Regions from separate parts of the Homo sapiens genome. Here all the other regions are linked to region 4. The links are contacts of gene promoters, found by promoter capture Hi-C in blood cells and fetal thymus (Javierre and others, 2016). All regions are on one chromosome and are shown on one strand. Each heading gives the region's core, a stretch centred on a gene start or on the middle of the fragment in contact. The rest is flanking DNA. Distances are from core to core; before and after follow the strand shown. Region 1 overlaps SKAP1 (src kinase associated phosphoprotein 1). Region 2 overlaps SKAP1 (src kinase associated phosphoprotein 1). Region 3 overlaps SKAP1 (src kinase associated phosphoprotein 1). Region 4 holds the start of HOXB5 (homeobox B5). Region 5 overlaps SKAP1 (src kinase associated phosphoprotein 1). Region 6 overlaps SKAP1 (src kinase associated phosphoprotein 1).

Region 1 (3,261 bases), core at 269-2,768, 280 kb before region 4:
TCTGTCTCACTCTAGCCACACAGGTGTGGCTCTAGCCACATAAGTTTCTTGATTATTCCCTGAAGACACTCAAAGATGGGTTCTACCTCAGAGCCTTTGCATCTGCTATTCCCTGTGTCTGGAATGCTCGTCCCTTAGATCAACCCATGGCTTGATCTCTCATTTCATTCAGTTTTCTGCTCAGAGGCCTCCTCTGATCACCCTGTTCTCAAAGAGATCTACTGTCACCCTTTTTAGTCATTCTCTCTCTGCCTTTCAGTCTTTTTTGTTGTGTTTAGTTTCAGACCATTTACCATGGCTTGACATTATATAACATATCGGCCCCAGTAAAATATGAGCTCTATGTGGCTAAGGGTTTTGTCAACTTCGTCTCTGTGTCCCCAGTACTAGTCTAAGGTCGTGCACATAGTAGGTCCTCAATGATAAATGAATAGATGAAGAATAGTCAAAGCAATTGGCAGACATTCCACCTAATGTTCATTTGAATATGAACCTCAAAAGAATGTTCACATGACAGAGACCACCACGCTAAGATGAGCTATTGATCAGACTGCTAAAAATCAGCTCTCTCTTTCCCCAACTTGCATAACACTGAAACCATATCTGCCTTATGGTATCTATCACTATTTCTTTTATACCATTCTTATTTCATACAGATCTTATCTCCCCTAGTAGCCTTTGTGGAAAAAAATCCCAATCTGATCCTTCATCTTCTCCCTTATCACATCCAACATGTGGCAGGTATCCAGCCCCTGGATCATGGGCAGGGCTGACAGTCACATCCTGGCCATGACAATCTGAGGCCCAGATGCTCATGCAGGAGCGAAAAGTGCCAGCCTCTCCGAGCCATACTGAATGATGATCCTTGACTCTATGCTCAGACGGATGTTCATGGGCATTCATCTGTTGACAAGGCTGAATGAAGAGAAGGGACTCCCAATGGAAATAAACCTATGAAAAATCACCAATCCCTTGTATGATAATTGAGGAAAAAAAGTATCTCAATGTTGATATAAAAAAGACGAACATAAAATAAAGACTAAACTTAAATGATGATCAGTTGACCTTCATTTCTTTTTTAGGGGTCAATTCCCAAACAGAAGTAGAACTATCACAAACATGGCATTAAACGTTTTAAAAATTGAATTAAATTAAGAAATCAAGTTATGTAATAGGAACAATTTTAAAGATGAAGAAATGAAAGTGCTCAAAGGTTTGGACTAGCAAAGCATAATTCTATACTTAGACCAGTAAGCTGGTCATATAAAATGTTCATAAAAATTTCCTTTTGAAATAAATATACTTGGATATGAATAATTTTCATGTACCAAAAGTTAAATAAAACTTGAAAACAAATGATAATAGGCAAGTTGCTTAACATTTCTACATCTTAGTATCTTTATCTGTAAACAAAAGGAACTGAAGTAACTTCAGGTCACTTCGAGGTCTGAAATAATTCAAATAAGAATCTAGTTGAGTTTTTCAGGATGGATATGTGTTTTATGCTTATCAATGGCTGAAACTAGAACAAATATTAAACTCTCATGAGACATTAAGTTAGAAGGCATCATACAAAAATCAGCAAAAACAGAGAAGCAATCAAAGGGTAGAGGTAGAAACTGAAGTACTTCAAGAATAAAATAAAATGGAGTTAAATCAAGAAAAAAATGCAATCAACAGGTATGAGAGAAAAATAATGCAAAACAGAAGTATCAATAAAATGAAAAGATTTAGAAAGTGTAATACTGTAAAAAGACTTAATGACACCAGAAAAGCGCAAATAAACTTTCATTATGACACATGAACAATACCACTGATTTTTAGATTTCATGTAAAGCACCATAATTCATAAGCCCATAAGCCCCTAGGAAGACATTCATATTTCTACATTCTTTTGCAAGAATTGCCATGTTGAAACAGACCACTGGTCCATCCCTTTTGCCATGCTGCCCTGACAGCAAACAGATGTTTCAGAGAAAAGCTCTACTCTCACCAACCCAAATTCAATAATACACCTAATGGTGCAATACTATATCAAGAACATCATTTCTTTTTGACCTCAGAGGGCAATTATCTTATACCCAAAGCAGGAGGCTGGCTCACTTTGATTTCACGCTGGGTGGCCCACTTAAGAGGTCCCACTTATAATTACATCAAGACTGATATTTTCATTCACTTGGCTTTTCTGACACACTAAGCTACTTACACAATTTGCTGTCATCACCGTCACAATTAGGCTCTCATGTGTTTGGAATAATGTAGGGATAATACAAATGGTTGTATTTGTATTTGTAACTGTCCTTTTAAAAATCTTTGCTTTCTGTGACTGGGCATGGTGGCTCACATCTGTAATTCCAGCACTTTGGGAGGCCACGGCAGGAAGACTGCTTGAGGCCAGGAGTTCAAGACCAGCCTGGGCAACATAGTGAGACTTCATTTCTACAAAAAAAATTAAAAATTAGCCAGGCATGGCATGTGCCTATAGTCCCAGCTAGTCTGGAGGCTGAGGTGGGAGGATCGCTTGGAGCATGGGAGGTTGAGGCTGCAGTGAGTCATGATTGCACCACTGTTTAGCCTGGGCAAGACAGAGCAAGACCTTGCTTCAGGGAAAAACAATATTTGCTTTCTTAAAAATTAATATTTCTATTATTAGCTTCAGTTTATTCAAAGGCTCGAGAATTCCCAACTTAATGTAAATAACCTTCTTGAAGTGGAAACAAAAAGGAGAAATGAACCTTTAAAGAAGTACACATAACAGTAAGAATAACTTTTGAATACATGAGGTTTTGGGCTTTATGAGGATGGTTTTCTGAGAGAGTGAACAAAACAGAAGAAATAGACTGGAATGGCAAAAGGAATTGATCAGGAGTATGAAACTGGAGCTGGATCTCAGTTGTTTCTAGTCCCCTACAGATTTAAAGGTACATTGCAGAAGCACTTCAGCCATAAATCCCAAGGTCTTCTCATCTCCAGAGGAATCCTTTTTGGGACAATCTTCACCTGCCACACCCTTTCTATAGTCCTGGAGTAGACAATTTAATTAGAGCCTCTAGCATGACATTTAAATTAATGTAAAAGAATAGGGATTGGGACCAGCCTGGGCAACACAGAGAACCCTGTCTCTAGTTTTAAAAAGAAAGAAAGAATTGGAGAAGACTTTTTCAACTGGGAACATAATGACAAACTTGGAGAAATCAATTATTTTCTCCATCAGAGTATTCTGGACATAAGAAACAGCAGTAGATCATGGTAGTCAATGAT
Region 2 (3,380 bases), core at 420-2,919, 330 kb before region 4:
GGTTGATTTGCTCACAAAGGAAGAGCAGCTTTGAGAATGGGCCACATGGATGAGAAAAGCGACCCAACATTAGAAATCTGCTGAGGACAATCACCTTCTGGCCCACCTGTCTTCTTGCACCAAGTTCCAGCAAAAAGCTCGCATCATGACACACTAGTGCTTTATCATCCTACAACAAAAAAAAGTCAGGATTCGAGGCCAGTTAAAGTGATGCTCTTAGGTAGCAAATTGTCAGTATTCCCAAAAGGACAGTCCTCTGATGGTGCTTTTGATACTGAAATTTCAAAGATCTCTGTTCACCTGAATGACATCCATAAATTAAGTCTCCCACAAAGTCCAAAATGTTCTTCTATTGCATTTAACAGAGAAGATACAAAATATAAAACTTTATTTCATGTGTGTGCAGATTTCCATATGCTTAACAAGAACTCACCTGGTTTCTATATTATGTGAAAAGATTGTCCTTATAAGACAAATTATATTCTAGTCACTTTCAAATGAAGTGGATTCACCAAGCACACAGTTTATCTCAGGATCTGGAAGCCTTCCTTAAAGCATGACTGTGCAACAAGAGTTTTAATGCCACTCCACTCTGTAATGCACTGCATGTTAACAAGATTTATATACATTACTGGTGCCGTTAAGGAAACTTAAATGACTTGCAGTTTCTCTAGATGAGATTTTAAAAAATCTTAAAAAGGGTGTGTAGCATACAAATGAAATCAGATTACATTAGAAGTTGTTTAAAAGTACAAACATAATACTGCTTGTGTACCAGCTATGGAACACACAGCAAAGACTTGTTTTACTTCAGACAAGCATTCTACAGTCACTGAACATAAAAAACCATAAAGTTACAGCTGCTTTTAAAATGTCACTTAGGGACAAACTGTATAGATGGGAAATTAGATAGTACTGAATGGTTCTGGAGAAGGACCAGGCCTGTACTCTGAACTCCTAACTCTGCATTCATGAGAAAGAATAAAATATTTCTCATCACTAATCATGTTTTCATATGTAGGTACCTGTACCTACAATGTGATCCAAATAATTTATCAGATTCAGAATGATTAATACTTTCCAAACTATACTTAAAATTGAGTCTAGTTATATTGTATGAAAATTGAGAAAAATGAGGTAGATGATGTTTGGGTAACAATTAAAATTTTAGGCAGATGCTTGAATGTCCGTAATTTTTTAAAATGGGGGACTCTACAGTACATGCTGCAAAAATGACTCAAGCTAGGATTTTCAGAATAACCTATATTTTAAAAGTGCAGAACAATGTCAAATCTTTAAGCTTTCAAGCAGAGGATTCGCAATAAAATGAAATCATTAGGCAAAGAGTGGTCACTGTTACGATAAGAAGAAAAAATAATTCAAAATTCTCATATCTATTATTATATTAGAATAGTTCACTTTCTTCTCTACATAATAACATTGGGTATTAAAGAGCCATTTATGCATACCTTATTATTATTTATGAAATTACAAATACACACAGTGTCTGATAACTCATCTCTCTGTATTAAATAGGAACATACATTGTTTTTTAAAATGTCTGCCTTTTACAATGTGTTAGGTAACAGCTTTCCATAGCGTAATCATGAATGCATTATATAATGTGCTTTATAAGAAATTATTAAGGATTATGACTATAGCAATGTAATTCGAATATAAATATGAATAAAGCATTTAGGAATGATATTTTCACTTAGACTGTTACCTACATAATTTGCAGCAATACAATTATCATAGAAGAAGACATACATTTACAGAAAAAGCTGTTGCTACGAATGTTAGTAAAAATCCTATAACGTAGGTGTTTTTCTAGCAACTTCACAAAACCCATGCCTTTAAAAACATGAGGAGAATCCACAATGCCACCTACAGTTTTCTTGACAGTAATCTTGCCTTGGCAGGAAAAAAGGTCAGCTTTATTTGAAAAGCCAGGTGCATGTAAATTTCCAAACTGCAAGTAGGTGGCAGTGGAGACATTTCTGGATGGCCCTTCTCAGTTGGAAATGTAAAAGGAGGAGGAAGCTTCCTTAAAAACAAGTTAAAAACATACTAAAATAAATAATTTCCTGAAATGTAACCTTCCAGATCACCATTAAGAGCTAATAAATTATTTGTCTTTAGGGACCAAAATCCCACCAATCTCTTAATGAAGACAACCATAGCATGAAAAGTGAGCAGCATGGATGACAAAATTAGAAAAAAATGAAAAGAGAGAAGTGTTGGACAATTGTTTCCCACAAATCTAAAAGAAATAATTAGGAATTTGATGTGGACAAGAAACTCCGAGGCTAGCAGCATGAAATACATAAATTTAAAACTAGTAACTTAGCATTTTAAGAAGCCATTAAGAAATCTCCTGTTTGAATGTGAATTTAAGAGTAAGGGAGATGAGTTTATTAGGATCTGGTCTTTAATGAAGAATATCAATTGAGTCCATCAAAAAATTGTGTACAAGAGGCTATTAAACAATGTAGACATATTTAAAGTGTGCTCAACTATAAACAAACACTAGAAACATTAGAATAAAACCACCTGAATTGTCTTTCAAGGTTAATGAGTTGGCATTTAGATTCATTCCATTCTCAAGTTTACTTGCAAAGATAAGAAGGGTCATTAAGTTGTATTATCGGTTCAATTTAATTGATTTGACTCGTGGACATCATATTAGAAACTGGAAAATGCCCAAGAATAAACACTGGAGGGGTGTGTGTGTGTATCAATATACATGGAAAGAAACAGGTAAATGTGTTGTAAGATGGAAAAAAAGGAAGTTAATGACATTATTTATATCGGAATCACCACGTGAAAAGAAATCAAGGTAAACGTCCAGATCAAAGCTTTTTCACACCATGACTATCTCGAATCAGCTTTTCTCCTTTCCTTAATTGGTTAACCACACACACACAGTTTAACAACAAAGGCAACCAAGTGGTCAAGGGATGCAAGAAACCTGGTGAAAACAAATGCCACGTTCTTAGTACTACTGTTCCCCTGCCTGGAACATTCTTCTTCTGTTCATCTTTTAAGATTCACCTCAAAATCCAGATACTCTAAAATGCTGTTCGGAATCCCTGATGTGAATTTAATCACTCCCTCTCCTGCAGTATTTAAAAAAACTTCTATTATAGCAATTATCACATTTTAGAATTAGAATTATTATAGTTGTGTTTGGATCTGAACGACCCCTAAGTCTGCAAGTCCTAGGAGGGCAGGGGTCAGTCCTTGACAATTTTTGGAAAATTTCTGATGCCATGCTCTGCAAGGATGTTTATCTGAATTAGTTGAAAGGATGACTTAAAACCATCTCTCAAAATACGCCATGCTTTAATGCTGTGGACAGTAAAGAATCTATGCTTTGG
Region 3 (3,321 bases), core at 296-2,795, 350 kb before region 4:
AAATATTTCTGAACCCAGCAGTAACAGATATAATCTTCCAAACTGGGAGTTTTTTCCATTTTTAGTTACCTGTCCCAAAAGCACTTATTCTCTTACTTTCCATTCTTTGCTGGTAGTTTTGTACAATGATGTCAAGATATCAAGGCTCCTGACACATCCTGAATTCTGAAAGAATGTGCTTCCTGAATATTCCTGATAATGGGCTTAGTATCAAAGGGGTTAATGAGGTTGAGTTAAGACAGCATTTCCTGCTTGAAGGAGAACTGAGTCCAACAACACTAGAAGCATTTTCTTATTATTTTTCTCTGCGTTTGCAGTAACTGCTTCTCCTGGAAGCTTTACCTGGGGGAAGGGATAAAGCAATATCACTAACCTGCCTGGCATCTGGCTTCCAGCAGGGAAAGAGGCTCATCCACCTCACCCCTCGGGCTTCTTTAACTGAATTAGCTGTATTAAGTGCCTTGGTAGCCCAGGGAATGAACGTCGTTGATCAGTGTGCCTAGAAAGGCATGTTTTCAGGGTATAATTCTGCCGGAGGAGAATGGACTCCCCAGCACATGGGCCTAAACTGCAGAGTAACAGAGCCCTAAATCTCCAGTTACAGATTTACAGCCTCCATTCTCCTTCTTTACTGCAAATACAATCCGGCAGTAATGGTCTAACACAGCAACACCATCACCAACTGGCTGATGGCTCGCATAAAAGCAATGTCAACCAAAAACTATGAGTTTATAAAAGGGAACAAACCCTCAACAGTGACAAGAACATGAAACCCATTAACAATTTAAACACTCTCCATTTTTTATTTCCCACCTTGAAGCTATTATTGCTGATAGAAAGCTCCTCAGTGGAGTTAACCACTGCAAGGAAGGGTTAGGAAGCTAGCTTAACTCCTAAGACAAGGGGTTATGTGGTTTGAACCATTTGATGGTGTGGTTTGAACCTTTGTTAATAGGAAGGCCATTTGATAACCTGTAGTGCAAAAGAAGGTCTTAGAATACTGTAAGTGTGATAGGATCTCCCCTAGTAGGTCTATCAAATTATTCTCAGGAACCACACTGAATAAAAACGGTTAGAATTGGATTGGCTAGTCTATTGAATATGCCAAGACTTGAGCCTGTACTGTAAAAGGAATGGTAGAATATTTTTTGGAGAAAGTTCTGTAAAAATCAAGAATCAACTCTTGGCATTATAACAATAAATGCTTATATGAAGTTTTATTTCTGTGATAGCTCTAACTCTTCGAAGGAACATTGCCACCACAATATTTCCATTTTGCAAATTGACTATACCTGGACTGTGATGTAAAATGTAACTCGTCACACACTATTACCTTCCAGTCTTTAGGTAATCAGATACAAACATTATAACTAATTTCTCAACTTAACTACAGGACTCTCCCATTTAAAACAAATATTACTGTGGAATTCTCTGGTGAAAAATGCTTGAGCAAGCCATCTCCCTCCCTGCCCTTTCAAATTCCCTGACTTCCCCTAGTAAAAATAAAAATAGGACTTTAAAGAGATATAATAAGCCCATGATTGGGTATTTTACCCCCAAAACAAAACTTCTTCCCTTTGTTCTATAAATCAGACAAACCCAATGGCAATAAGAAAGTTGTTCTCTTTGTGGTTTTGAGCTTTTTGCATGTGTAATTTGTCAAACAGTTCATCTTTTGGAAATAGGATCTTCACACTAAAAAGGAACAAAATCCTGTTTTTGCAAAGGGGAAAAAAAGGCCATGTTGAACATGGTAACATATATCCATACGAATAGTGCCAAAGAACTTAAAGTCCCTGATTTACATATATTGTGCTGATTGTTTGAGCATCAATATAAAAAATTTAATCTGTACTAATGGGCCTGGAGGAAGCGCAAATAAAACCGAGGAATAAGTACTTGTTTTGCAGTACAATGAATGCTATTAATATATATATAAAACAGGCTTCAGTGATGCATAAGCTATTGTATTCTAAAAATATTCCTACATTTTTGGCACTTTAAAAATGTATTACCTCACAAAGGACTATCAACCTATCTGCAGACTCTTAACCTGGGCTAGCATTAAGAAAGGAATCATTTCATTCTGCTTTTGTTACATGTACATAGATTTTGAACTAAGCAGATATGGCACCTGTTGGTTTTAAATGTCTCCTCCTCTAAGAAAAAGAAAGAAAAAAGTTCAGGAGAAGAAAAAGAAGAGATGTTAAATAAAAGACAAGAAACAAGGAACTAAGAGAATAAAATTATTTTCCCCACAGTGTGCAATGAAATCAAGCTACACTAATTCTACTTATAATAATGTTAGAAAATGGTTAGCCTTAATGCCTGATAATGACCAGAGCTAATGTGGTTCTGCTTTCAGTGTGGATAATGTTTAAGGAAGTAGCAGAATGCATGGCAGCTTTCCTGGACTATACAGTCAACTCCAATGAAGCCTTTTCTCCAGCTTGAGTCATAACCATAAATACTGCCCCATCCCCACATTCCAGTAACAAAGTCCTTCCTTCCTCCTTTGCCCCTAAACAAAGGGGACAACAGTGTGTTCGGTGGGAACATCTTGAAATAAGATAACACTCCCCAAATGGAAGGAAGTCACAGGGGAGATTGACGCCATAAAGGCAGTTCTATCCTATTGAAACGCCAGCAGATGGGGTCATAAACATTTCCTTCTCCCCTTGCTAACAGCCACCAAGTCAGCTTCATCTTTATCTTTATCTTTATCTTCCTGTCAGGTCATAAATACCTCTCACTCAAGCTTCACTCACAGCTGGGCCATGCCAAGCAAGTTTACTTCCTGTTAAAGGTTCCTTTCAGCAAACATTAACAAATAGTTGGGGGAAAGAAAACTGAAAATTCTGCTGATGATACACAGTTATAATATTCCAAAGGAAGCTTGGAAACCTCAAAGAAAGGGTTTGGCCAGACTAAGAAATGACCAAACTGCCTAGCAAAAAGCATGGAGATCCACTTAAAAGAAGATGCGTTCACAGGGAAAATGAGTCAAATAATTAGTTAAAACTTATATTTACATCCAAACAAAATAAAAGAGCTGAATAGTGTCATGGGCTTTCATTCTTTCTTCTAGAACCTCCAAATGATGCATGGATGCTTGCCATTTGTTCCTGAGTCTAAAACCTGGACCATAATCGTAGAAAATGAAAACAGAAGATTTCTAGGAGTAGTAACTCAATACAAAGTCATGCTTAGGCCAAAGGTTAGAGAAAGAACACACCCCTTTACTTTCAGAATTTTGGCTCATGAGGAAGGAGTAACCTGACTCTCTTTCCTTCCTGGGGAACAGTTTTACACTTGGGAAAC
Region 4 (3,257 bases), core at 1-2,500:
CGGGGGAGCAGGACCCAGGCGTCCCGGCACCCAGCTCACCACAGCTCCAATCCTCTCTACTCCAGATGCCCACATTCAAGCTCGATTTCTGCACCCCTTTCTACTGCATCCCCCACTTCTGCAGGCAGCCAGTGCGCCCGGCTTTGTCTCTTGCTCGCTCCTAGTGCCTCACCCTTGGCTGGGCTCAGGCGGCCGCTCGCCCCGGGAGGGAGGAGAGCGGTTGCACTTTTGCCCCGGAAAGCTCCTTTTACTGTTCACCCCTTCTTTGCTAGCGACAGTCTCAAAATTTCAGGGGTAAGCAGGACCCTTCCCCACATTATATGAACCCCATCCTTTATCCTAAAGCTGGTTCAGCTGCGCTAATAAAAACCTAAGCCGAAGCTGGAAACAAATTATTAAAAATACCCCCCTCTTAACAGAGAGACCCTTTTTGGCTCTGTCTACGAAGCTATGAGGCCCCTCTTAGATACTTCTCCCCCTTAGAAAAATGAATCTATATTTAGGGTAAAGCCAAGCTCTCCTTGTCCCCCCGATCCCACCCCAAAACGCAGAGAAGGAAAGCCGAGAAGACAAAAAAGAGAGAGAGAATTACCATGGCTGATGTGAAGCTTCCTCATCCAGGGGAATATTTGCGGAGTCTGCCCCTCGGGCGCGGCTGTGGAGGTGGCCATGGGCTCTGGCTGCGCCCGAGCTAGGCTGGGGCTGCTTAGCTGGCTTGCCGCTTCCTCAGGCTCCGAGGACGCGCTGGCCTCGTCTATTTCGGTGAAATTGGCGCTGGAGCTGGCTGAGGTCGCCTGGTCGGAGGGGGACGAAGCAGAGGGCTTGGCGCCGTGGCTGTCGCCGTTGGTGCAGGGCAGGGACTCGGGCGAGGACAGGGAGCAGCTCGAAGCCGCTTGCCTGAAGCGGGGCTCCTGGGCGGGCGCGGGGAAGGCGCGCGAGCTCTCGCCCACCGCCCCAAAGTGGCTGGAGGAGGCCGAGGAGCGGTTGACGCTGAGGTCCATCCCATTGTAATTGTAGCCGTAAGAGCCGGTGTGCATGGCAGCGGGATCCCTGTAAGAGCCGCTCAGAGAGCTGCCACTGCCATAATTTAGCAACTGATAGTCCGGGCCATTTGGATAACGCCCCGAGAAGGAGTTTACAAAGTACGAGCTCATTTGGGTGATTTTGGAGGGCTTGATTTGTGGATCGTGGTCGTTATAACCCTGTGCTTCACGATTTATGATGTATTAATGAATTATAGCGATGCACTGTACTTCGTTTTGCTATGTATGCGGCCAAATATGGGGGGGGGGTTGGAAGGGGGGTGGGGGGCGTTAGGGAATCACGTGCTTTTGTTGACCAGTCGTAAATTCTCGCTGATGACCTCAAGAGGTAATTCATGCTCTATGGTTACAAATAATGACGATCCGAGAATCGTTAGGGCCGATTCAATGCGAGCCTCCGAGAGAGGGGGAAAAAAGGAGAAGGGGGAGAAACAGAGAGAAGGTTGGCTTTGGCCTCTGAGCAGAGCGCGCCACCTCCCGGCGACCGACGGGAGCGCGGGCGTGAGACCGCCATGGCGGCGGGCGGCTGCCTCCCTGCTGGCTCCCTGCAGGCTCCCTGCAGTCGCCGGGAGAGAAAGAAACCCGGCCAAGGCTCAGCCACAGGGTTGAGCCTTTTAGAGCAGGGGTTGGGCTTTTTACCCACTTTCTTGTGGGTGGGGTTAGCCTCTCTATTTGGTTCTTTCTCCCTACATCATCATTGTCGTTATTATTTTAACTTTGGATGAGAAGATCAAAGATAGAGTTGCTTTTCCCTTTCTTGGGCTTTGCAAGTCTCCGAATTGGAGGCGGAAATGGGGGAAGGGTTGGAAGTTGTGTGTGAAAAACAATTATTGCAACGGGTTTTCCCCAGGAGCTTAGTCCGGCCTGCATCCTGGTGGAACTGCTGTTACCGGTCCACAGCGCCCAGGCCGAGCCGGCAGGGCTGGGCGGGAGGCTTGAAAAAGAAGGAGAAGCGTTCACTTCTCCTGGGCCACTTGGAAGTTCGAAATCCCCTTCCGGACCTCCTTGGTGGTCCTTAGCCCAGGCGTGGGGAGTGACAGAGCAGGACAGGGACCCCAGAAACCGAGCACAGCTGGGGCTAAGCGGCCTAGTTGCCGAAAAGACTGCAGCGGCCACCGCGTCTGCTGCTTAGTTTGAGTAGTAACATGTGTCTGAGAGTTTGTAAAGCGGGATCCCTTCCCCTCCTCCTCGGCTATTGCATTCGGAGGCCCCACTACAGGTCCCTCACTCGCAGCTAGGCAGTTTGAGAATTTGCCTGGTGGCAGCCGCCTTCCCGGAAAAGGGGTTCCAAGGACCCGCATGCTTTGCTGAGCACGCTGGGCGGCCAGAGACCGCCGCAGCTGGTCTCCTATTAGGAGGGGACTATTTTCTTTAAAAATAAGAAAGGAAGCGAGAGGGCGGAGGAATAAAGGAAAACAGTGACCGCAGCTTGCCTTCTGGGTGCCGGTGCAAGCAGAGAGAGAATGAGCCATTCTGGGTTGAGAGGATGACACTAAAAGCCCCATCACCTGGCCTCCTGCCCTGGGGTCTCCAAGGAGCAAGGGAAAGTTGTGGCCTTCGGCCTGTGCCTGGCTGGTGGCTTTACATTCCCCTACTTGAGGCTGATCTCCTACTTGAGGCTGATCTGCTACTTGAGGTGGGAAGGGGCACCTGGAGCCTTCAGCTGCAGGGTGAGAGATACCCAGTGGCCCCATTTTTCAGTCTCCAGAGCCACAGGCCAGGAGCGGAGGGCCAAGGCTGGCGAAAAAACCTGGCCATGTGGACGGGCCAAAGACCAGGGGTCGCTGCGAAGGTGAGGACAGAAAAGCGCTGCAGAGGCCCCCAGACTATGGCTCCGTCTCCGCCAGAGAGCTTTAGGGGCCTCAGTGGCTCCCTTAGTGCTGTGTATACACGAGGAAAGGCTAGAGAATGAGAGGGACACAGCACCTCTCCATCCCCCAAGTCTGCACGGGGAGAAGCGGCTGTGAGCCTCAGCACCAGGGAAACGCAGCGCTGGGGCCTGGGCAGGACTGATCGCTCCAGCCTTTATCTCAGCTGTAACTTCCCAGTCGAACAGGGCTCGCTTCGGCGGGCCAGGGCTCTCGCCTTTGCTGAAGAATTCTGGCTCAGGAAAGATGGAGAGGCTGGGGGTTGAGGAGAGAGGAAAAAATGGCAGGGGAGGATTGGAGGTGACCGAGCGTCGAGTTTTCACATCTTTATTATTGTTGTTGTTGT
Region 5 (3,591 bases), core at 1,060-3,559, 290 kb before region 4:
CTGCACTCCAACCTTGAGCAGCCACTCCCACAGGGCTGACTGCAGCCTATACCTGCACATTTGACCTGCCTCTTGATTCCAGACTCTTTCCAGATGTTCCAGCGTTTATCTTTTAAAAGTTTCCCTTGCAGTTGACACCATCTTCCCCACCTTAAATATTTATTGGAAATGACAGTTCTGTATGTCATCCTTAGCTATTGGTCATCTAAAGTTTCCGGACTTCTATAAAGAACCTGTCACATTAGAGTATTTTATTATCTTTCTGCATAAGTCAGAGTGAGCGTCAACAAACAACTAGTCAGAAGCTGCGGGCAAAGCAGTTTTGGTAGCATGGATAACTCAGGCTCTCCTTGGACTGATTCTGATTGACTATGTGGAAGGGGTTACCCTGGATTCCCAATTCTAGAAAAGTAGATGATTGAATTCACTTTCAGGAATCCAAGAGTTTAGAATAAGTTTCAGATTTTGAGATACTGACTATAAAATAAGAATAGTTAAAAGACAAAAATTAAAAACTCTTAACTGTTTTAGACTTTATTTTATATTTCTTATGCATCTTACACTGAGTAGTACACTATTCCCTTGGAGCAAAAAGCTCCCTGATGACTACGTAATTCGCTTCAAGACACTATGTTTTGATTTAGCAAATCCCTGTATTCATTTATTTCATGAGATCCTGTTTTCATGAAAGAGTTAAACTCCTTCTATAAGGTAAAGAGCTTAATCACTATGGGATGAGATATTTTTTCTATTTTCCAGTGCAATTACTCTTTTTCTTAAATCTAATTGAATTCACTTTCCATGTTAGTGGGGGAAGGGAAGTGGGTAGGAGGGATGCAGCATATGTTAGAAGACAAATAGTGTAAACTGTAGACCTTTTAATACAGTGGATTTTTGTAAAGATAAAAAATTGTGATCTGATAAAAATGTTTAATATTCAGTGGTATGGCAGGCGTGGGGGAAATTTTGACCATCAGAAACTGGATTTTGTGTATGGAGAATATCAGGGACATTGCATAAGGAACATTCGTATTTATAATTTATAAAGCACCTTGGGATTCTCTAGACGAAAAGCACCATATAAATATGAGCATTTTCATTTCATGTGGGTGATCACAGAATGTTGGCATTTCAGCATAAACCATATTTCAGTAGTGAAAGGGATATAAACTCTTATGTAGATTTGGTTTTGCTGCCATTTTCTCTTCCCTGAGTTGTAACATACACAATGGAGCATGCCCTTATTGGCTGCCTCCTTTACCTTTTCTAAAGTTCCTGTCTATTTCGTTTTGTCTTTGTGGTGTCAATGTACTGTCCAGCATTTGGCTTTATACTCATAAGCTAGACTACTGAAGGAAGTAAACATTTATCTTGGATCTATCTGGTATAGTGTTTTCCATCCTTCAGTATTTCTGATGTCTAAGGGAGGAAAACCTCCAGATATCATTGAAGGGGGAAGAGGGGGAGGCTGTCACTCTGTGGCACATTAAGACACAGTATAGAACAGGAGACTACTATTATTTCAAGGTTCTTTGAAAGTTCTTTAGGATATGACAGAATATATATGTATGTGTGTGTGTGTGTGATTTGAAAATCTGGATCATACAATCACATTTTAGGGGATCAATCTGACAAACATTTATTGAATGTCTAATATGTGCTGACAGCCCACAATCCTTTGGAGATGCCAGTGTATGTAATACAATGCAGGTAAATGGTGGTAGGCAACAGCTATGATAACTGATCAAGTAAAATGCAAGACAGGAAGGGGTTGAGTCCAACCTGGGGCAACTAGGAAGCCAGCTAGAGAAGAGGGAGTTTGAGCATGGCCTGGAAGGATGAGTGGGTGGATGGGAGGATGGGAAAGGCACTCCAGGTGGAAGGCACAGGGCTGGGTTTGCGGAATGATGATGAATAATCCTGTGAGGCTGGGGTTTGGGGCATGAGTTTCACATGTAGGAGGTAAGATGAAAGGTAGGCTCAGTATTTCAGGTCATGGTTTCAAATCCTCTTCAAAATAAGTGTAGGTCATGAAGCTGCAGTGTTATGAGAAAACTGTTTTTAACTATGAGTGTTCCTAGCTTATTATTTCCCCTGTGTGCTCAAGAGTTTCTGGCTTCACTAGTTCAGGTCCTTCCCAGGCTCACCATCATCCAAGGAGGGCTCTGCCATTCTCAGTCAAGTGTTTTGGCCTTGTGATGCAGCATGGGGAGAATGTGGAGAATAAGATACTTAGGTTGACAGTAGAAGACAGGGAGCAAAGAAGCAGTCTCCACCCCATATCTTCAAGGATTAAGAGAGACAGGGCAGAATGGCATGGGACTGTGAGAGAGTTCTGGGACAGGAGAGTGAGAGGCTCCAGGGAGTTCTGGGGATTTTGAAAAAGGAGGAGAAGTTGCCTTGTAAAATGGGCTACAGGTATTTTTGAGGACAGAAATTCCTACTTTTGTTGTGCTTCTGTGAATGTGATACTTCTTCAGGACTGGGTCCTGGTGTCAAAGGGATAGACAGCTCAGTGTGAGATTGCATGTGATTTTCCATGGTCTGGAGGCTATATTATATTTATTAACCACATATTATACCAAGAGAGAGTGATGAGGGGTGAGCCTAAAAATGAAGTGGATCAGAATCTTTTAGCATTTTGCTCCTCCATGAATTCTCTATTTAATGATTAATGTTTGTTGAATAGATTGAGATGGTTCTCACTGTATATATTAATTACTGCTTAACAATAATGTGTTTTCTCTTAATCCTGTCACATCTCTTTAATGGCTGCCTTAAACTTCCACTTTCCAGTCTCCCTAAGCTCTAGGCCAGTCCCTGCTCCATGGCTTTTTACTCTTAGTAAATGGCTTTGCCTTCTCCTCCCTTCAAGTAAAAATATCTCCGTATCTTCATTCTCTTCTATCCTTTAACTCCTTTCTCTAAGGAATGAGTCCCCTGCCTGTTAGCCAGGACTGATTCTTGTATAGTATTGACTGACCCATTTCTACCTTTCCAGGACCTGATTCTACCCATTATCTTCTCTTTTAGACTGGTTCTTTCTCATATGCTGGAAAATCAGCTCAGATCTCCCCTCTCCTAAAACTAAAACAAAATAACCAAAAAGCTCCTCTCTCCTCCTACCATTTATCCCTTTCATTCTTTTCACCAAACAACTTTTTTTAGGTAACATATACCCACAGCCTCTAGTTTCTGAGTACTCACTCACTCTAAGATCACTAATAACTAGGCTTGTTTTTAGTAGACTACTGAAACTGCTCCTTGGAAGATGAGCAAAGATCTTCTTGTTTTGTTTCCTCTCTATTCCCACCAACCCTTCCCATCAGCCCAATATCCAACAAATTATAAATTTTCAGGGAGATTCCCAATTACCTATCTTTATATTCCTTCAGCACCTAGCATTATGCATTGCACATGGTAGAGACTCCATGAGTATTTGAATTGAATCTAGATTTCTTTCTTTCTTTCTTTTTTGAGATGGAGTCTCGCTCTGTCACCCAGGCTGGAGTGCAGTGGCGTGATCTCGGCTCACTGCAACCTCCGTCTCCTGGGTTCAAGAATTGCTTGAACCCAGCAATTCTTCTACTT
Region 6 (3,173 bases), core at 542-3,041, 310 kb before region 4:
GGGCCAGCTTCCATTTTCCCTAAATCCTTCTTTCCTGTGCTCACAGTTCCTTCTAAGAGCTTGTCTCCTAAGGCCAGCATTTAACCCAAGGTCCCTTTGCTATCTTCATTCCCTGGGGCCCTGTTGTCATACAGTTTTATCAGAAGAGAGCAGACAGAGAAGAAAATATACTTATTTCTCATGGAAAGAACTCATATATTGCTTGGTTCTAGAAAGAAAAATGATCTAAAGCAATAATAATAAGCTTGTTTATGGAAACTAGACAAATCAAAAAGAGTTCTGGAAAACATATTTTGTATGTTTGGTTTTAAATACTTTATTGAGATATAATTTACATAAAATACAATTCTTGGCCAGGCGCTATGGCTCATGCCTGGAATCTCAGCATTTTGGGAGGCAGAGGTGGGAGGATTCACCTGAGGTCAGGAGTTTGAGACCAGCATGGTACAACATGGTGAAACGCCGTCTCTACTAAAAATACAAAAATCAGCTGGCTGTGGTGGTGGGCGCCTGTAATTCCAGCTACTTGGGAGGCTGAGGCAGGAGAATCACTTGAACCTGGGAGGCAGAGGTTGCAGTGAGCCGAGATCTGCACTCCAGCCTGGATGACAGGCTGCACTCCAGCCTGGGTGACAGAGTGAGACTCTGTCTCAAAAACAAACAAAAAACAACAACAAAAAATGACACACAAAAAACACAATTCTTTTTAAATGTACAGTTTAATGAATTTTGACAAATATATACATATATATATAGTAGTTGTATAACCACTACCAAATCAAGATATAGAATATTTCCATCACTCTGAAAAGCTCCTTTTTGCCCCTTTGTAGTCAATCCACTCTTTCTATCACTGGCCTTGCCAATCATTGATCTATTTTTGTGTCTATAGCTTTGACTTTTTAGGGATGTCAAATACATGAAATCATATAGTATCTAATATTTTATGTCTGGCTTTCTTTAATTAGCATAAAACCTTTAAGATTCATCCATGTAGTTGTGTGTATCAGTAGTTTATCCCTTTTTATTGCTGAATAGAAACACAATTTGTTTATCTACTCACCAGTTGATGGATACTTGGGTTCTTTTCAGTTTCAGTGAATAAAGCTGTTATAAACACTCAAGGCAGAACCTGTACTCAGACTTAGGCAGTCTAAACCCAGAGCTCAGGTTTTTTTACTTTTTTATTTTTATTTATTTTTTATTTTTTGAGATGGAGTCTTGTTCTGTTGCCAGGCTGGAGTGCAGTGGCGTGATCTTGGCTCACTGCAATCTCTGCCTCCTGAGTTCAAGCGATACCCCTGCCTCAGCCTCCCAAGTAGCTGGGATTACAGGCACATGCCACCATGCCCGGCTAATTTTTTGTATTTTAGTAGAGATGGGTTTTCACCATGTTGGCCAGGATGGTCTTGATCTCCTGACCTCGTGATCCACCCACCTCGGCCTCTCAAAGTGCTAGAATTACAGGCGTGAGTCACTGCACCTGGCCCAGAGCTCAAGTTTTAAAGCACTTCAGTCTACTGGTGCCCAATAAGAAACCATGAAGCTCTTTGTCATTGTCATGGCACTCCCTGATGGGGTTCTTCTCACTGCTCCTAGTGCCTGTGATGCTCTCCAAGTGGAGACTGCCTGATCGCACATCAAATGCTGCTCATTTAGGCTGGCAGGCAGAGGCAGCGTGCTTTCAAATTGTGCTTTAAAGAAAAACCTTTATATTTCCAAACAAATTAAGGGAATTTACTTGTAAGGAAAATCTAATTTAGGTATCTTTAAAAGGAGAGGTTTAGAAAATAAGAAATTAACACTGTGGCCACCATCTAGTGATCCATGGCTTAAGTTTTAACATGGCACTGAAAACTTCTCTTACCCATAAGTGTTGATCTAGTATAATTTATTATCTTTGGAACAGTATAAGTTTATTATAAAATCAATGAGAAAATATATGCCATTAGGCATGCCCTCATACTCATATTGTTTAGAAAAACAATAAAACAAAAACAGACAAAAAATAAATATTAATATTTACTAGTTTATGGACAGGCAAGACAACTTTTTAAAAATCCTAGTTTATCTAATGCATATATTTTTAGTACTGCAGCAATAAGGAAAACCTGAAGAACAACAGCTAAGTGTAACTAAGAGTACATATTCTACAGTTAAAAAAATCACACAAGCATTTACTTGATTCTTCATGCACCGATAAGAATGGTAAAGAAAACAGAAATCCCAAAATAATATAAGTTTGTCTCAGCTAACAATATCATTTGGAAAATTCTTATGTTTACCCAAAGTTGAACTGCACTTAATACTTTCTTTTATGCCTTTCTGTTTCATTTTATTAGATTAAGAAATTATAAAAAGTTTAAACATGTACAAATGTATAGAAAATAATGTAATGAACCTCCTGTAGCTATCATCCAGCTTCAACAATTATCAACTCATGGCCAATTCTGTTTCCTCTATTTTCCTCCATTCATTCCTCACCTCTACCCAAACTAATGCCTTATTTTTTTTAACTTTGTACTTTGAAATAATTTTAAGTTTTCAGAAAAGTTGCAAAAATAGTACAGAGTTCTCATCTATCCTTCACCCTGTTCCCTCAAAGCTAACATATTGCATAACCACAGTATAACTATCAAAACTAAGAAACTGCTTTTGGCTGGGCAAGGTGACTCATGCCTGTAATCTCAGCACTTTGGGAGGCCAAGGCAGGAGGATTGCTTGAGCCCAAGAGTTCAAGACCAGCCTGGGCAACATAGTGGGACCTCAGCTCTACGAAAAAGTAAAAAGTCAGCCAAGCATTGTGGTGTACGCCTGTAGTCTCAGCTACTTAGTAGGCTGAGGTGAGAGGATTGCTTGAGCCTAGGAGGTCAAGGTTGCAGTGAGCCAAGGTCGTCTCGCTGCACTGCTGCTGCCTCAGTGACAGAGCAAGATCTGGTCTCAAAAAAAAAAGAAAGAAAAGAAAAAAAGAAACTGCCCTTTTTTTTTGGTAAGGAAAATTGCACATTTTTGTGCTCCTCTGATAAATGCAAACCCACCCATCTGAGGGAACAATAACTACAAAATGCCATCCACTCTTAGCAATTATGTAATTCCATGTAATTATTTTCTCAGTTTGGCTAAAAAAAGCAAGTACTTTGAGATCTCTAAAATAGTCACAAACTAGTGCATTT

Evidence for each region. The method cuts DNA at HindIII sites, captures the fragments that hold promoters and counts their contacts. A CHiCAGO score of 5 or more calls a contact.
Region 1: a contact is called between a fragment that was not itself captured here and the fragment with the promoter of HOXB5 in region 4, in 14 of 17 cell types (non-activated CD4 T cells, activated CD4 T cells, fetal thymus and 11 more). The highest score is 14.9, in non-activated CD4 T cells.
Region 2: a fragment that was not itself captured here is called in contact with the fragment with the promoter of HOXB5 in region 4 in 14 of 17 cell types (megakaryocytes, erythroblasts, endothelial precursors and 11 more); the score reaches 14.4 in megakaryocytes.
Region 3: a fragment that was not itself captured here is called in contact with the fragment with the promoter of HOXB5 in region 4 in 4 of 17 cell types (erythroblasts, endothelial precursors, total CD8 T cells and 1 more); the score reaches 6.9 in erythroblasts.
Region 5: a fragment that was not itself captured here is called in contact with the fragment with the promoter of HOXB5 in region 4 in 11 of 17 cell types (total B cells, M1 macrophages, M2 macrophages and 8 more); the score reaches 8.2 in total B cells.
Region 6: a contact is called between a fragment that was not itself captured here and the fragment with the promoter of HOXB5 in region 4, in 6 of 17 cell types (total CD8 T cells, total CD4 T cells, megakaryocytes and 3 more). The highest score is 7.3, in total CD8 T cells.

What each region holds. Positions count from the first base shown.
Region 1 is chr17:48,316,260-48,319,520 of GRCh38, forward strand. The region is part of intron 4 of SKAP1 (src kinase associated phosphoprotein 1); the gene reads right to left. Among named protein-coding and RNA genes, the nearest start is that of SKAP1-AS2, 24 kb to the left of the region's middle. The HindIII fragment of the contact is 4,284 bases long and covers 1-3,261 here.
Region 2 is chr17:48,257,907-48,261,286 of GRCh38, forward strand. All of the region lies in intron 4 of SKAP1 (src kinase associated phosphoprotein 1), which reads right to left. Among named protein-coding and RNA genes, the nearest start is that of SKAP1-AS2, 35 kb to the right of the region's middle. The HindIII fragment of the contact is 743 bases long and covers 1,299-2,041 here.
Region 3 is chr17:48,241,785-48,245,105 of GRCh38, forward strand. The region is part of intron 4 of SKAP1 (src kinase associated phosphoprotein 1); the gene reads right to left. Among named protein-coding and RNA genes, the nearest start is that of SKAP1-AS2, 51 kb to the right of the region's middle. The HindIII fragment of the contact is 2,422 bases long and covers 335-2,756 here.
Region 4 is chr17:48,592,529-48,595,785 of GRCh38, forward strand. HOXB5 (homeobox B5) reads right to left here and starts at 1,251. Exons shown (of 2, transcript NM_002147.4): 1 at 593-1,251. The coding sequence starts at 1,154. All of the region lies in intron 1 of HOXB-AS3 (HOXB cluster antisense RNA 3), which reads left to right. HOXB6 (homeobox B6) reads right to left here. Exons shown (of 4, transcript NM_018952.5): 4 at 3,223-3,257. RefSeq lists a silencer at 875-924 and enhancers at 1,181-1,688, 1,390-1,459, 1,689-2,194, 3,237-3,257. The HindIII fragment of the contact is 5,828 bases long and covers 607-3,257 here.
Region 5 is chr17:48,298,002-48,301,592 of GRCh38, forward strand. The region is part of intron 4 of SKAP1 (src kinase associated phosphoprotein 1); the gene reads right to left. The region is part of intron 1 of SKAP1-AS2 (SKAP1 antisense RNA 2); the gene reads left to right. Among named protein-coding and RNA genes, the nearest start is that of SKAP1-AS2, 5.4 kb to the left of the region's middle. RefSeq lists an enhancer at 2,095-2,184. The HindIII fragment of the contact is 9,512 bases long and covers 1-3,591 here.
Region 6 is chr17:48,279,835-48,283,007 of GRCh38, forward strand. All of the region lies in intron 4 of SKAP1 (src kinase associated phosphoprotein 1), which reads right to left. Among named protein-coding and RNA genes, the nearest start is that of SKAP1-AS2, 13 kb to the right of the region's middle. The HindIII fragment of the contact is 3,099 bases long and covers 243-3,173 here.